Linked DNA regions of Homo sapiens: region 1 is linked to region 2. The links are contacts of gene promoters, found by promoter capture Hi-C in blood cells and fetal thymus (Javierre and others, 2016). All regions are on one chromosome and are shown on one strand. The core of a region is centred on a gene start or on the middle of the fragment in contact, and the rest is flanking DNA. Distances in the headings are between cores, read along the strand shown.

The links. Contacts are between HindIII fragments. The CHiCAGO score rates a contact against its expected background, and 5 or more counts as called.
Region 1: a fragment that was not itself captured here is called in contact with the fragment with the promoter of SMG8 in region 2 in 1 of 17 cell types (M2 macrophages); the score reaches 6.0 in M2 macrophages.

Annotation. Positions count from the first base shown.
Region 1 is chr17:58,670,747-58,677,595 of GRCh38, forward strand. The region is part of intron 1 of TEX14 (testis expressed 14, intercellular bridge forming factor); the gene reads right to left. The region is part of intron 1 of IGBP1C (IGBP1 family member C); the gene reads right to left. It also overlaps the pseudogene RNU1-52P. Among named protein-coding and RNA genes, the nearest start is that of IGBP1C, 18 kb to the right of the region's middle. The HindIII fragment of the contact is 226 bases long and covers 4,958-5,183 here.
Region 2 is chr17:59,204,489-59,211,416 of GRCh38, forward strand. SMG8 (SMG8 nonsense mediated mRNA decay factor) reads left to right here and starts at 5,547. Exons shown (of 4, transcript NM_018149.7): 1 at 5,547-6,928. The coding sequence starts at 5,564. PRR11 (proline rich 11) reads left to right here. Exons shown (of 10, transcript NM_018304.4): 10 at 1-2,221. RefSeq lists an enhancer at 5,356-5,425. The HindIII fragment of the contact is 12,029 bases long and covers 1-6,561 here.

The DNA of each region.
Region 1 (6,849 bases), core at 3,821-6,320, 530 kb before region 2:
TGGGCGACAGAGTGAGACTCCCTCTTAAAAAAAAAAAAAAAAAAAAAAAAAAAAGTGACTATACTTAATATATTCTTGAAAATTCCTGAAAGCATATGTTAAGCATCTTTACCACAATAAAATGATAGAAGTACATACAGTAATGCATATATTAATTAGCTCCCTGTAGCCATTCCACAATGTATAATACTTCAAAACAACGTGTACACAATAAATATATACAATTGGGACACTGATTACCATTACATGTCCAAATATTGCTTCCACTCCACCTTCTGGAACTCTCATTGCATTTATCTTGACCCTCTCATTCTATTCTCTATCTCTTTGAAACTTTCTTGCATTTTCCCATCTCTATATTTCTTTGAGCTACATCCTGGGTAATTTTTCAGATCTGTCTTCACTAATTCTGTCTTTGGCAGTGTCTGCTGCTTAACCCATTCACTAAGATTATTATTTCAATTATTGTAGTTTCATTTTGAGAAATGAATAGACTAGAGAGGGTTTCTTTTGTTTCTGCCTGGTGCTGGGGGACATCACCAAGCCAGGCTAAAGTAACTTTTTGTGCCATCCCCTAACATATACACATAGCAGTATGAATTCTGGCCCATTTTGAGGGACTGTGAATGTGAGATAGTGGTGAAGATTTCTCTGCCCCTTCCCATTCTCAGGCTGAGGCTGAGACCAGCACATATCTCTAACATCTTTCTCTTGGGGAGGGGGCATTCCTCAGAACTGAGAGTGTTCTTCTCCTGGGGTCGCAGCTTTATAGAATGAGGAGGGACTCTCTAGTCAGACCTCCCACCCAGCTCAGGCCCCAAGCTTTGTCTCCTGCCTGTGGTCCATTAAAAGCCAGCCCCAGAGCTTCTAAGGATGGCCAATGTCCTTAGGAAATAGACAGGGTCCATCCCTGCCTTTCCTTTCTGGATTTGTTTCTTTCTCTGGGTCTCTGTGGATTTCTCTTTTTGCTAGATCAGAAATATATTTTAAAAACTCGTTTTCTTGTTCTATTTTCTCACCATTTTACATGTTTTGAGCTTACAAAAGCCTTCCCTGGACCTCAGGTCTACTCACTGCCAGAGAAGCTCATCCCTCAATTCATCTAATCCTTTAGACTTTCCACGCCATTTCACTCACTAGGCCCCTAGCCCCATCTCTCACCTACTTCATGCTGCAGCACAGCGTATTTCCTCTATCTTAGAGGCTCCCAAACTTTTTGGCACCAGGGACCAGTTTCATGGAAGACAATTTTCCATTTCTCCACGGATAACAGGGGGTGGGTGGGAATGGTTTCAGGATGAAACTGTTCCACCTCAGCTCATCAGGCATTAGTTAGGTTCTCATAAGGAGTGTGCAACCTAGATCCCTGGCATGCTCAGTTCACAATAGGTTTCACGCTCCTATGAGAATCTAATGTGGCTGCTGATCTAACAGGAGGAGGTGCTCAGGCAGTAATGACATCACCTCCTGCTGTGCGGCCTAGTTCCTAACAGGCCACCAACTGGTACCATGCTCCTTCCAGGGGGTTGGAATCCCCTGCTCTAACTGGTCCTAGAGCCAATCAACAGTCATCTCCTCTACTCCCATTTCCCCAGCACTGCTGGAGAAAAAAAGTTGCAGAATCTTCCAGCACTCTTACTCCAAATACTCCAAATTTATGCAAACTGCAACTACATCCTCACTGCTACTTGGCATTCCTTTTTTTGAGACAGAGTCTCGCTCTATCACCCAGGCTGCAGTGCAGAGGTGCAATCTCAGCTTGCTGCAACCTCTGCCTCCCAGGTTCAAATGATTCTCTTGCCTCAGCCTCCCGAGTAGCTGGGATTATAGGCACGCGCCACCAGGCCCAGCTAATGTTTTTTTATTTTTTGTATTTTTAGTAGAGACGGGGTTTCACCATGTTGGCCAGGCTGGCCTCGAACTCCTTGGCCACCCAAAGTGCTGGGATTACAACTGTGAGCCACCATACCCAGTCGGCATTCCTTTTTTTCTTTGTTTGTTTTGAGATGGAGTCTCGCTCTGTCACCCGGGCTGGAGTGCAATGGTGTGATCTCGGCTTACTGCAACCTTTGCCTCCTGGGTTCAAGCGATTCTCCTGCTTCAGCCTCCTGAGTAGCTGGGATTACAGATGCGTGCCACCATGCCTGACTAATTTTTGTATTTTTAGTAGAGATGGGGTTTCTCCATGTTGGCCAGGCTGGTCTTGAACTCCTGACCTCAAGTGATCTGCTAGCCTCGAACTCCCAAAGTGCTGGGATTACAGGCATGAGCCACCACGCTCAGCCGGCATTCCTTTTATACATACTTTTTTTAAAAAAAATTTCTTACAATTGAGTGGTTCTCCATGACAGTGGAGCCACTCCCAAAGGGAAATTTTGAAACTCTGAGGGGATGTTTTTGTTTCCCTGGGTAGTCATGCCAAGCCTTTACATATTAAAATATTGTATTGTAGGGCAGGGCGCGGTAGCTTATGCCTGTATTCCCAGCACTTTGGAAGGCCGAGGTGGGTGGATTATAAGGTCAGGAGTTCAAGACCAGCCTGGCCAATATGGCGAAACCATAAAAAAAAAATAACAAATATAAAAAATTAGCCAGGCGTAGTGGTGCACACCTGTAGTCCCAGCTACTCAGGAGGCTGAGGCAGGAAAATCGGTTGAACCCAGGAGGCAAAGGTTGCAGTGAGCCGAGATCACGCCACTGCACTCCAGCCTACACGACAGAGTGAGACTCCATCTCAAAAATAAATAAATAAATAAATAAATAAATAAATAAATAATTGTATTGTAACTTATTTTTCTCTCTCCTTTATATTTGTATTGTTTTGTTTTTGAGACAGGGTCTTGTTCTGTAACCCAGGCTGGTTGGAATGCAGTCACGCAATTTCAGCTCACTGCATCCTCAACCTCTTGGGCTCAGGTGATCCTCCCACCTCACCCTCCCGAGTAGCTGGGACCACAGGCATGCACCACCATGCCCAGCTAATTTTTTCAATCTTTTTTTTGTTTTTCTACAGTTGGGGTTAAGCCATGTTGCCCAGCTTGGTCTCAAACTTCTTGGCTCAGGCGATCCTCCCACCCTCCCAAAGTCCTGGGATTATAGACGTGAGCCACCCCACGTGGCTTCTCTCCTTCATATTATAGTTAGGACATATTATCTGTGGGGTAACTATATGTAGTTTATATTTTCTACAAACATCTTCAAGGTAGTAAATGGAATGTTACTAGTTCTTATAAAAGGAAACCCTGGGCCGGGTGCGGTGTCTCCCACCTGTAATCCTGGCACTTTGGGAGGCCAAGGCGGGCAGATTGCCTGAGATCAGGAGTTCAAGACCAGTCTGGCCAACATGGTGAAACCCCATCTCTACTAAAACTACAAAAAATTTAGCTGGGTGTGGTGGCATGCGCCTATAATCCCAGCTACTCGGGAGGCTAAGGCAGGGGAATTGCTTGAACCAGGGAGGTGGAGGTTGCAGTGAGCCGAGATCGCACCACTGCACTCCAGCCTGGGCGACAGAGCAAGACTCTGTCTCAAAAAAAAAAAAGGAAACCCTTGATTTGACAGAATTGAGAACCACAAACTAATCCTATTGAACCCACATCCTTTTCACAGGAGTGAGAATAACTTATTTATGATGAAAGTCCGGCCAGGCGCAGTGGCTCACGCCTGTAATCCTAGCACTACAGGAGGCCAAGGTGGACAGATCACTTGAGGTCAGGAGTTCACAACCAGCCTGGCCAACGTGGCGAAACCCCGTCTCTACTAAAAATACAAAAATTAGCTGAGCATGGTGGCTCAGGCCTGTAATCCCAGCTACTCGAGACGGAGAGGCACAAGAATCGCTTGAACCTGGGAGGCGGAGGTTGCAGTGAGCCGAGATCCTGCCCCTGCACTCCAGCCTGGGTGACAGAGTGAGAATCCATCTCAAAAAACGAATAGAAACACTAAGAAGAAAACATAGATGTAAATCTTCCTGACCTCCAATTAGGGAATGATTTCTTACATATGACATCAAAAGCACAAGTATAGTATGTCAATTATCCTTCAATAAAGTGGTTAAAAAAAAAAAAAGATTTATCTTCGATGAGGCCTTTGGAAAAAAAAAAAAAAAGGCAGGTAGGCCGGGCACGGTGGCTCACACCTGTAATCCCAGCACTGTGGGAGGCTGAGGGGGGGTGCATCACTTGAAGCCAGGAGTTTGAGACCAGCCTGGCCAACATGACGAAACCCCATCTCTACAAAAAACACAAAAATTAGCTGGGCATGGTAGCACATGCCTATAACCCCAGCTTCTTGGGAGGCTGAGGCATGAGAATCACTTGAGCCTGGGAGGTGGAAGTTGCAGTGAGCTGACATTGTGCCATTGCACTCCAGCCTGGATGACACAGGGAAACCATCTCCAAAAAAAAAAAAAGATGCAAATAGCCAATAAGCACACGAAAATATGTTCAATATTCTTAGCCATCAGGGTAATACAAATCAAAATCACCATGAAATACCACTTCACCCTCACTATGATTGCTAGAATCAAAATGACAAGTATCTGGCTATGGGTGGGCAAACTAGTTGATTTTCCCGAAAAAAGCTAAAACTACAAAGAAGATTGTGCCAAGCCTTGAGTGTGTTGAGCCCAACTGCAGAACAAAGAGAATGCTGGGTATTAAGAGATGTAAGCATTTTGAAGTGAGAGGAGATGAGAAGAGAAAGGGCCAAATGATATCCAGTTCTAAGTGTCATCTTTTGTTTTATAATGAAGACAATACAATATTGGGGTTATGTTCACATAAAAAAGTCTCCAGACAATCTCTGGCTCTTTCTAAAAATCAAACTATCTTTTAAATGGGTGAATTGTATGGTATAATATTAACAGATGGTTTCCCCATCTCCCTTCCCCAGACAGACTCCTGATTATGACAAGGACTATGTTCCAAGGGTATCTGCATTCCCCTCACCCAGAATAAGCTTTGTTTACAATAAGTACCCCATTATATATTGGCTGAATTGAATGAACTGGAAATCAAACTCAGGAAGCATTTCCAAAAGGATTTCCTTTAAACATGTTTTTAATTTTTAGAGACAGGTTCTTGTTCTGTCGCCTGGGCCTCCAAAGGTACGGTGATTACAAGCACGAGCCACTGAGTCTGGACTTTTTGCATTTTTAAATTGATATATCATAGTAGTATGTAAGCTTTTCCCTTTTTAAAACTACTATGGGCCAGGTGCCGTGGCTCACACATGTATATCCCAGCACGTTGGGAGGCTGAGGTTAATGGATCACCTGAAGTCACGAGTTCGAGACCAGCCTGACCAACATGGTGAAACCCTCTCTACTAAAACATAAAAATTAGTCGGCCAGGTGCAGTTGCTCACGCCTGTGATCCCAGCACTTTGGAAGGCTGACGCAGGCAGATCACCTGAGATCAGGAGTTCAAGCCCAGCCTGGCCAAAATGGTGAAACCCCATCTCTACTAAAAATAAGAAAATTAGCCAGGCGTGGTGGCAGGTGCCTGTAATCCCAGCTACTCAGGAGGTTGAGGCAGGAGAATCACTTGAACCCTGGGGGCAGAGGTTGCAGTAAGCCAAGATCACAGCATTGCACTCCAGCTTGGGCAACAAGAGAGAAAATCCATCTCAAAAAAAACCAAAAAAACAAAAAAAAACACAAAAAAACCCAGGCGTGGTGGCAGGCGTCTGTAATCTCAGCTACTCGGGAGGCTGAGGCAAGAGAATCACTTGAACCTGGGAGGCAGAGGTTGCAGTGAGCCAAGATCATGCCATTGCACTCCAGACTGAGCAATAAGAGTGAAACTCCATCTCAAACAAAAGAAAACAAAACAAAACAAAACCAACAAACTACTATGTCAGAACCTAAAGGTGATCATTCAAAGTAGTCATTTTAGAATGCAATGAATGAATTTCAATTCTATAGTCATTGTTAAGAGCAGGTTAAAATCCTTTAGGGGCCAGGTATGGTACTCATTTTTGTAATCCCAGCACCTTGAGAGGCCGAGGTGGGAGGATCACTTGAGGCCAAGAGTTCGAGACCAGCCTGGGCAACATAGCGAGACCCTATGCTACAAAAAGTTCTTTTAAAATTAGCCAGCTGACCAGGTGGGGTGGCTCACGCCTGTAATCCCAGTACTTTGGGAGGACGAGGCAGGCAGATCACCTGAGGCCAGTCTGGCCAGCATGGCGAAACCCCGTCTCTACTAAAAAATACAAAAAAGTAGCCAGGTGTTGTGGCGGGTGCCTGTAATCCCAGCTACTCAGGAGGCTGAGGCAGGAGAATCGCTTGAACTCAGGAGGTGGAGGGTGCTGGGAGCCGAGATCAAACCATTGCACTCCAGCCTGGGCAACAAGAGGGAAACTCCGTCTCAAAAAAAAAAAAAAAAAAAAAATTAGCCAGCCGTGGTGGCACATGCCTGTACAGCTACTTGGAAGGCTGAGGCAGAAGGACTGAGTCCAGGAGGTCAAGGCTGCTTTGAGCCATGATTGAGCACCACTGTACTCCAGTCTGGGAGACAAGAGCAAGACCCTGTCTCTAAAAATAAAAATGCTTAAAGGAAATCCTTCCTGAGTTTGATTTCCAGTTCATTTGACTCAGCCAACATATATGTGGTACTCATTGTGTACAAAGTTTATGCTGGATTAAGGGAACACAGCCAAGAAAAAACACCAAGGAAGCCTGTTACTATCACAAACTAAATAGTAGTACAGCTTCTCACTTCCATGGAAATTTAAAGACACAGTTCACAAGAAACAAGCAAGGAGAAGCCAAACACGGCCACAGACAATCACATTGGCTACTTCCCATTTGACAAAGAATAACACAGGGGAAAGTGTGAACACAGT
Region 2 (6,928 bases), core at 4,297-6,796:
GTCAGACGTTTGAGACCAGCCTGGCCAACATGGTGAAACCCCGTCTCTACCAAAAATAAAAATAAAAATTATCCAGGCGTGGTGGCATGTGCCTATAGCCCCAGCTACTCAGGAAGCTAAAGCACGAGAATTATGTGCATCCTGGAGGTGAAGGTTGCAGTGAGCCAAGATCACACCACTCCACTCCAGTCTGGACAACAGAGTGAGACCCTGTGTCAAAAAAAAAAAAAAGAAAGAAAGAAAGAAAAAATGCTTTATGGCCCAGTGCAGTGGCTCACACCTATAATCCTAGCACTTTGGGAGGCTAAGGCAGGAGGATTGCTTGAGGCCAAGAGTTCAAAACAAGCCTGGGCAACATTGCAAGACCCCAACTCTACAAAAAACGAAAAATTAGCCGGGAGCGGTGATGTGTGCCTGTAGTCCCAGCTACTCAGGAGACTGAGGTGGGAGAATCACTTGAGCCTGGGAGGTTGAGGCTGCAGTGAGCTGTGTTTATACCACTGCACTCCAGCCTGCTGGGTAACAGAGCAAGACTCCATCTCAAAAAGAAAAGAAAAAATGCTTTGCTACATAATGAGGCCAGGCAAAAAAAAAAAAGTCCTGTGGAAATCATATAGACAAACATTTGCAAAGCTGCTACTGCCATTGTACCAGTGTTAAACTGTGTTCTACCTTGCATCTTTTACTGATTTTTATGACAGATTTTATATTGTAACCATTCGAGAACTCTGTAAGTGCTATGGCTTCCTTAAACTACGATTTATCATATGCTCCCGGTGTTTACTTTGAGACTGAATGGCAACCAGAGAATGTAAACAACCAAGGTGCATCTGGTTATGTTTTAAAATAAAGATTAATAAAAGTTTTGGTTTTTCTCTTTCTAACCTTCTTTTTAAACTAGAAATATAATACCTATAGAAAAGTAAATGTTGGCCGGGTGCGGTGGCTCATGCCTATAATCCCAGCACTTTGGGAGGCCGAGGCAGGCAGATCACCTGAGGTCAAGAGTTCGAGACCAGTCTGGCCAACATGGTGAAACCCTGTCTCTACTAAAAATACAAAAATTAGCCGGGCATAGTGGCAGACACCTGTAATCCCAGCTACTGGGAAGGCTGAGCCAGAATGGCTTGAACCTGGGAGGCAGAGGTTGCAGTGAGCCGAGATCGCCCCATTGCACTCCAGCTTGAGCAACAAGAGCGAAACTGTCTCAAAAAAAAAAAAAAAGTATATGTTAAGTATAGAAAAATATATAAATTAAAAAATTATAGGCTTGGGGGCCAGGCACAGTGGCTCACACCTGTAATCCCAGCACTTTGGGAGGCCGAGGTGGGTGTATCACTTGAGGTCAGGAGTTTGAGACCAGCCTGGCCAACATGGTGAAACCCCGTCTCTACCAAAAAAAATATATAAAAATTATCTGGGTGTGGTGGCATGTGCCTATAGTCTCAGCTTCTCAGAAGACTGAGGCGTGAGAATCACTTGAACGATGGAAGTGGAGGTTGCAGTGAGCTGAGATCACACTACTGCACTACAGTCTGGGCAACAGAGTGAGACCTTGTCTCAAAAAAAAAAGAAAGAAAAAGAAAAATGCTTTATGGCCCAGTGCAGTGGCTCACACCTATAATCCTAGCACTTTGGGAGGCTAAGGCAGGAGGTTCGCTTGAGGCCAAGAGTTCAAAACAAGCCTGGGCAACACTGCAAGACCCCAACTCTACAAAAAACGAAAAATTAGCCGGGAGCGGTGATGTGTGCCTGTAGTCCCAGCTACTCAGGAGACTGAGGTGGAAGAATCACTTGAGCCCGGGAGGTTGAGGCTGCAGTGAGCTGTGTTTATACCACTGCACTCCAGCCTGCTGGGTAACAGAGCAAGACTCCATCTCAAAAAGAAAAGAAAAAATGCTTTGCTACATAATGAGGCCAGGCAAAAAAAAAAAGTCCTGTGGAAATCATATAGACAAACATTTGCAAAGCTGCTACTGCCATTGTACCAGTGTTAAAATGTGTTCTACCTTGCATCTTTTACTGATTTTTATGACAGATTTTATATTGTAACCATTTGAGAACTCTGTAAGTGCTATGGCTTCCTTAAACTACGATTTATCATATGCTCCCAGTGTTTACTTTGAGACTGAATGGCAACCAGAGAATGTAAACAACCAAGGTGCATCTGGTTATGTTTTAAAATAAAGATTAATAAAAGTTTTGGTTTTTCTCTTTCTAACCTTCTTTTTAAACTAGAAATATAATACCTATAGAAAAGTAAATGTTGGCCGGGTGCGGTGGCTCATGCCTATAATCCCAGCACTTTGGGAGGCCGAGGCAGGCAGATCACCTGAGGTCAAGAGTTCGAGACCAGTCTGGCCAACATGGTGAAACCCTGTCTCTACTAAAAATACAAAAATTAGCCGGGCATAGTGGCAGACACCTGTAATCCCAGCTACTGGGAAGGCTGAGCCAGAATGGCTTGAACCTGGGAGGCAAAGGTTGCAGTGAGCCGAGATCGCCCCATTGTACTCCAGCTTGAGCAACAAGAGCGAAACTGTCTCAAAAAAAAAAAAAGTATATGTTAAGTATAGAAAAATATATAAATTAAAAAATTATAGGCTTGGGGGCCAGGCACAGTGGCTCACACCTGTAATCCCAGCACTTTGGGAGGCTGAGGTGGGAGGATCACTTGAGGCCAAGAGTTTGAAACCAGTATGGGCAACATTGCAAGACCCTGTCTCTACAAAAAACAAAAAATTAGCCGGGCATGGTGGCATGTGCCTGTAGTCCCAGCTACTCGGGAGACTGAGGTGGGAGAATCACTTGAGTCCAGGAGGTTGAGGCTCCAGCGAGCAGTGTTCATACCACCTGCACTCCAGCCTGCTGGGTGACAGAGCAAGATGCTGTCTCAAAAAAAAAAAAAAAAAAAAAAGAAAGAAAAAAGAAAAATGCTTTGCTATATAACGAAGCCAGGCAGGAAAAAAAAGTCCATATAGATAAACATTTGCAAAGCTGCTACTGCCATTGTACAGTGTTAAAATGTGTTCTACCTTGCATCTTTAAATAAAGATTAATAAAAGTTTTGGTTTTTCCCTTTTTAACCTTTTTTTTTAACTAGAAATAATAATACCTATAGAAAAGTATATATTGGCCGGGCGCAGTGGCTCACGCCTGTAATCCCAGCACTTTGGGAGCCCAAGGCAGGTGGATCATGAGGTCAGAAGATCAAGACCATCCTGGCTAACACGGTGAAACCTGGTCTCTACTAAAAATACAAAAAATTAGCCGGGCGTGGTGGCAGGCGCCTGTAGTCCCAGCTACTTGGGAGGCTGAGGCAGGAGAATGGCATGAACCCGGGAGGCAGAGCTTGCAGGGAGCTGAGATCACGCCACTGCACTCCAGCCTGGGCAACAGAGTGAGACTCTGTCTCAAAAAAACAAAAAAGTATATAGTAAGTATAGAAAATATATGAATTAAAAAATCAATGCCGAGCGTGATGGCTCAAACCTATAATCCCAGCACTTTGGGAGGCCGGGGTGGGCAGATCACCTGGGGTTGGAAGTTCGAGACCAGCCTGGCTAACGTGGGGAAACCCCATCTCTACTAAAAATACAAGTTTAGGTGGGCGTGGTGGTACGTGCTTGTAATCCCAGCTACTTGGGAGGCTGAGGCAGAAGAATTGCTTGAGGAGACGGAGACAGGGAATAGGAGATGGAGGTTGCCGTGATCCCAGATAGCACCACTGCACTTCAGCCTGGGTGACAGAGTGAGACTCTGTCTCACAAAAAAAAAAAAAAAAAATTTTAGGCCGGAGGCGAGGTGTGGTGGCTGACACCTGTAATCCCAGCACTTTGGGAGGCCGAGGTGGGTGGATGATGTGAGGTCGGGAGTTCGAGACCAGCCTGGCCAACATGGTGAAACACCATCTCTACTAAAAATACAAAAATTAGCCGCCCATGGTGGTGCACCTGTAATCCCAGCTCCTTGGGAGGCTGAGGCAGTAGAATCACTTGAACCTGGGAGGTGGAGTTTGCAGTGAGCTTAGATTGCACCACTGTACTCCACTCTGGGCAACAGAGCAAGACTCTGTCTCAAAATATATATAATATATATTATTATGTATATATATAATATATATTATTATGTATATGTGTAATATATATTATTATGTATATATATAATATATATATTATATCATAATCCCTTCCCTCACTAAGTAATCACTGACCTACTTGGTACAATAAATATTTCCTTGCTTTTAGTAAGAACACACCCCTAAATGCAATGGTTTATTTTGCTTGCTTTTGAACTCTATAGAAATAAAATCAGGCCTGGCGCAGTGGCTCTCGCCTGTAATCCCACCACTTTGGGAGGCCGAGGCGGGCAGATCATGAGATCAGGAGATTGAGACTATCCTGGCCAACATGGTGAAATCCTGTCTCTATTAAAAATACAAAAGTTAGCTGGGTGTGGTCTCACGCACCTGTAATCCCAGCTACTTGGGAGGCTGAGGCAAGAGAATCACTTGCACCGGGGAGCCGGAGGTTGCAGTGAGTCGAGATCGCGCCACTGAACTCTAGCCTGGCCACAGAGCAAGACTGCATCTCCAAAAAAAAAAAAAAAAAAAAAAAAAAATAGAATTATAGGGTATATACACTTTTGTTTCTGATTTCTTTCAATCAACATTTATTTTAAAGATTCAGTCATGTTATTGTATAGTGCTATAGATAATTTTTTTAGATTCAAAGATTTTTATTTTTTACAAAACCCCAGAATAATAAACGTTATAATTATACATTTAAATCTGGTTGTAAGTTTTATCCTGGCAGCTATTTGTCAATATGCCTTCTAGTTAGAGAGGTTCTGCAAGTTATAATTTACATACAAAGATATTTCGCAATTTTTTTTTTTTTTGAGACGGAGTCTCACTCTGTCGCCCAGGCTGGAGTGCAGCGGGGTGATCTCGGCTCACTGCAACCTCCACCTCCTGGTTCGAGCAATTCTCCTGCCTCAGCCTCCTGAGCAGCTGGAACTACAGGTATGCGCCACCACGCCTAATTTTTGCTTTTTTTTTTTTTTTTTTTTTTTTTTTTAGACGGTTTTCGCTCTTGTTGCCCAGGCTGGAGTGCAATGGTGTGATCTCGGTTCACTGCAACTTCCGCCTCCCGGGTTCAAGCGATTGTCCTGCCTCAGCCTCCCGAGTAGCTGGGATTACAGGCGCCCGCCACCACGCCCGGCTAATTTTCGTATTTTTAGTAGAGATGGGGTTTCACCATGTTGGCCAGCCTGGTCTCGAACTCCTGACTTCAGGTGATCCGCCCGCCTTGGCCTCCCAAAGTGCTAGGATTACAGGCGTGAGCCACCGCAGTAGTCCCAGTTTTGTTTTGTTTTTTTGTTTTTTGTTTTTGATATCTCAATTCCTACAGTTGAGGAAACAAACTAGGAGAGGAGAAGAGGAGGCGGAACTCAAGTGACGGGAAAGCAGGAACTGAAGAAGCGGAGGAAGGATTTCAAAATTGGACGAAAGCCGGTCGGTTTTACTAACGGACCGGAAGGACTCTAGAGAACGCTCTGCACTATGGCTGGTCCCGTGAGCTTGCGAGACCTTCTAATGGGAGCATCAGCCTGGATGGGCTCTGAAAGTCCCGGAGGGTCCCCTACTGAGGGCGGAGGGAGCGCGGCTGGCGGACCGGAGCCTCCATGGCGGGAGGATGAGATCTGCGTTGTGGGAATCTTCGGCAAGACGGCTCTACGCCTGAATTCCGAGAAGTTCTCTCTTGTGAATACGGTGTGCGACCGACAGGTCTTTCCTCTCTTTCGCCACCAAGATCCTGGGGATCCAGGACCTGGAATCAGAACTGAGGCTGGCGCCGTGGGTGAGGCCGGTGGAGCCGAGGACCCTGGGGCTGCAGCCGGGGGTTCAGTTCGGGGAAGTGGAGCTGTCGCGGAAGGTAACCGAACTGAGGCAGGCTCCCAGGACTACAGCCTTCTGCAGGCCTACTACAGTCAGGAAAGCAAAGTTCTGTATCTTCTCCTCACCTCCATCTGTGACAATTCACAGCTTCTCCGGGCTTGTCGGGCTCTTCAGAGCGGGGAAGCTGGAGGTGGACTCTCTTTACCTCATGCAGAAGCACACGAGTTCTGGAAGCATCAAGAGAAGCTGCAGTGCCTCAGTCTCCTTTACCTATTCTCTGTCTGTCATATCTTGCTTCTGGTCCATCCCACTTGTTCCTTTGATATCACTTATGATCGAGTATTCAGAGCCCTGGATGGGCTGAGACAGAAGGTCCTGCCGCTCCTTAAAACAGCCATTAAGGATTGTCCAGTTGGCAAAGACTGGAAGCTAAACTGCCGACCTTGCCCACCTAGACTCCTTTTCCTCTTTCAACTCAATGGAGCCCTCAAGGTAGAACCTCCTCGGAACCAAGACCCAGCTCATCCAGACAAGCCCAAGAAACATTCTCCCAAAAGGAGGCTGCAGCATGCCCTGGAGGACCAGATCTATAGAATCTTCCGGAAGAGTCGTGTCTTGACTAATCAGAGCATCAACTGCCTCTTTACTGTGCCTGCCAACCAAGCTTTCGTGTACATAGTACCGGGAAGCCAGGAGGAGGACCCAGTAGGTATGTTGCTGGACCAACTTAGGAGTCATTGTACTGTGAAGGACCCGGAATCTTTGCTGGTGCCTGCACCCCTTTCTGGGCCTAGGCGATACCAGGTGATGAGGCAGCACAGCCGACAACAACTTTCCTTTCACATTGACAGCAGCAGTTCCAGTTCTTCAGGCCAGCTAGTGGATTTCACTCTTCGGGAATTCCTATGGCAGCATGTGGAGCTAGTTCTAAGCAAGAAAGGTTTCGATGACAGTGTGGGCAGGAACCCACAGCCTTCCCATTTTGAACTTCCTACTTATCAGAAGTGGATCTCAGCAGCTTCAAAACTG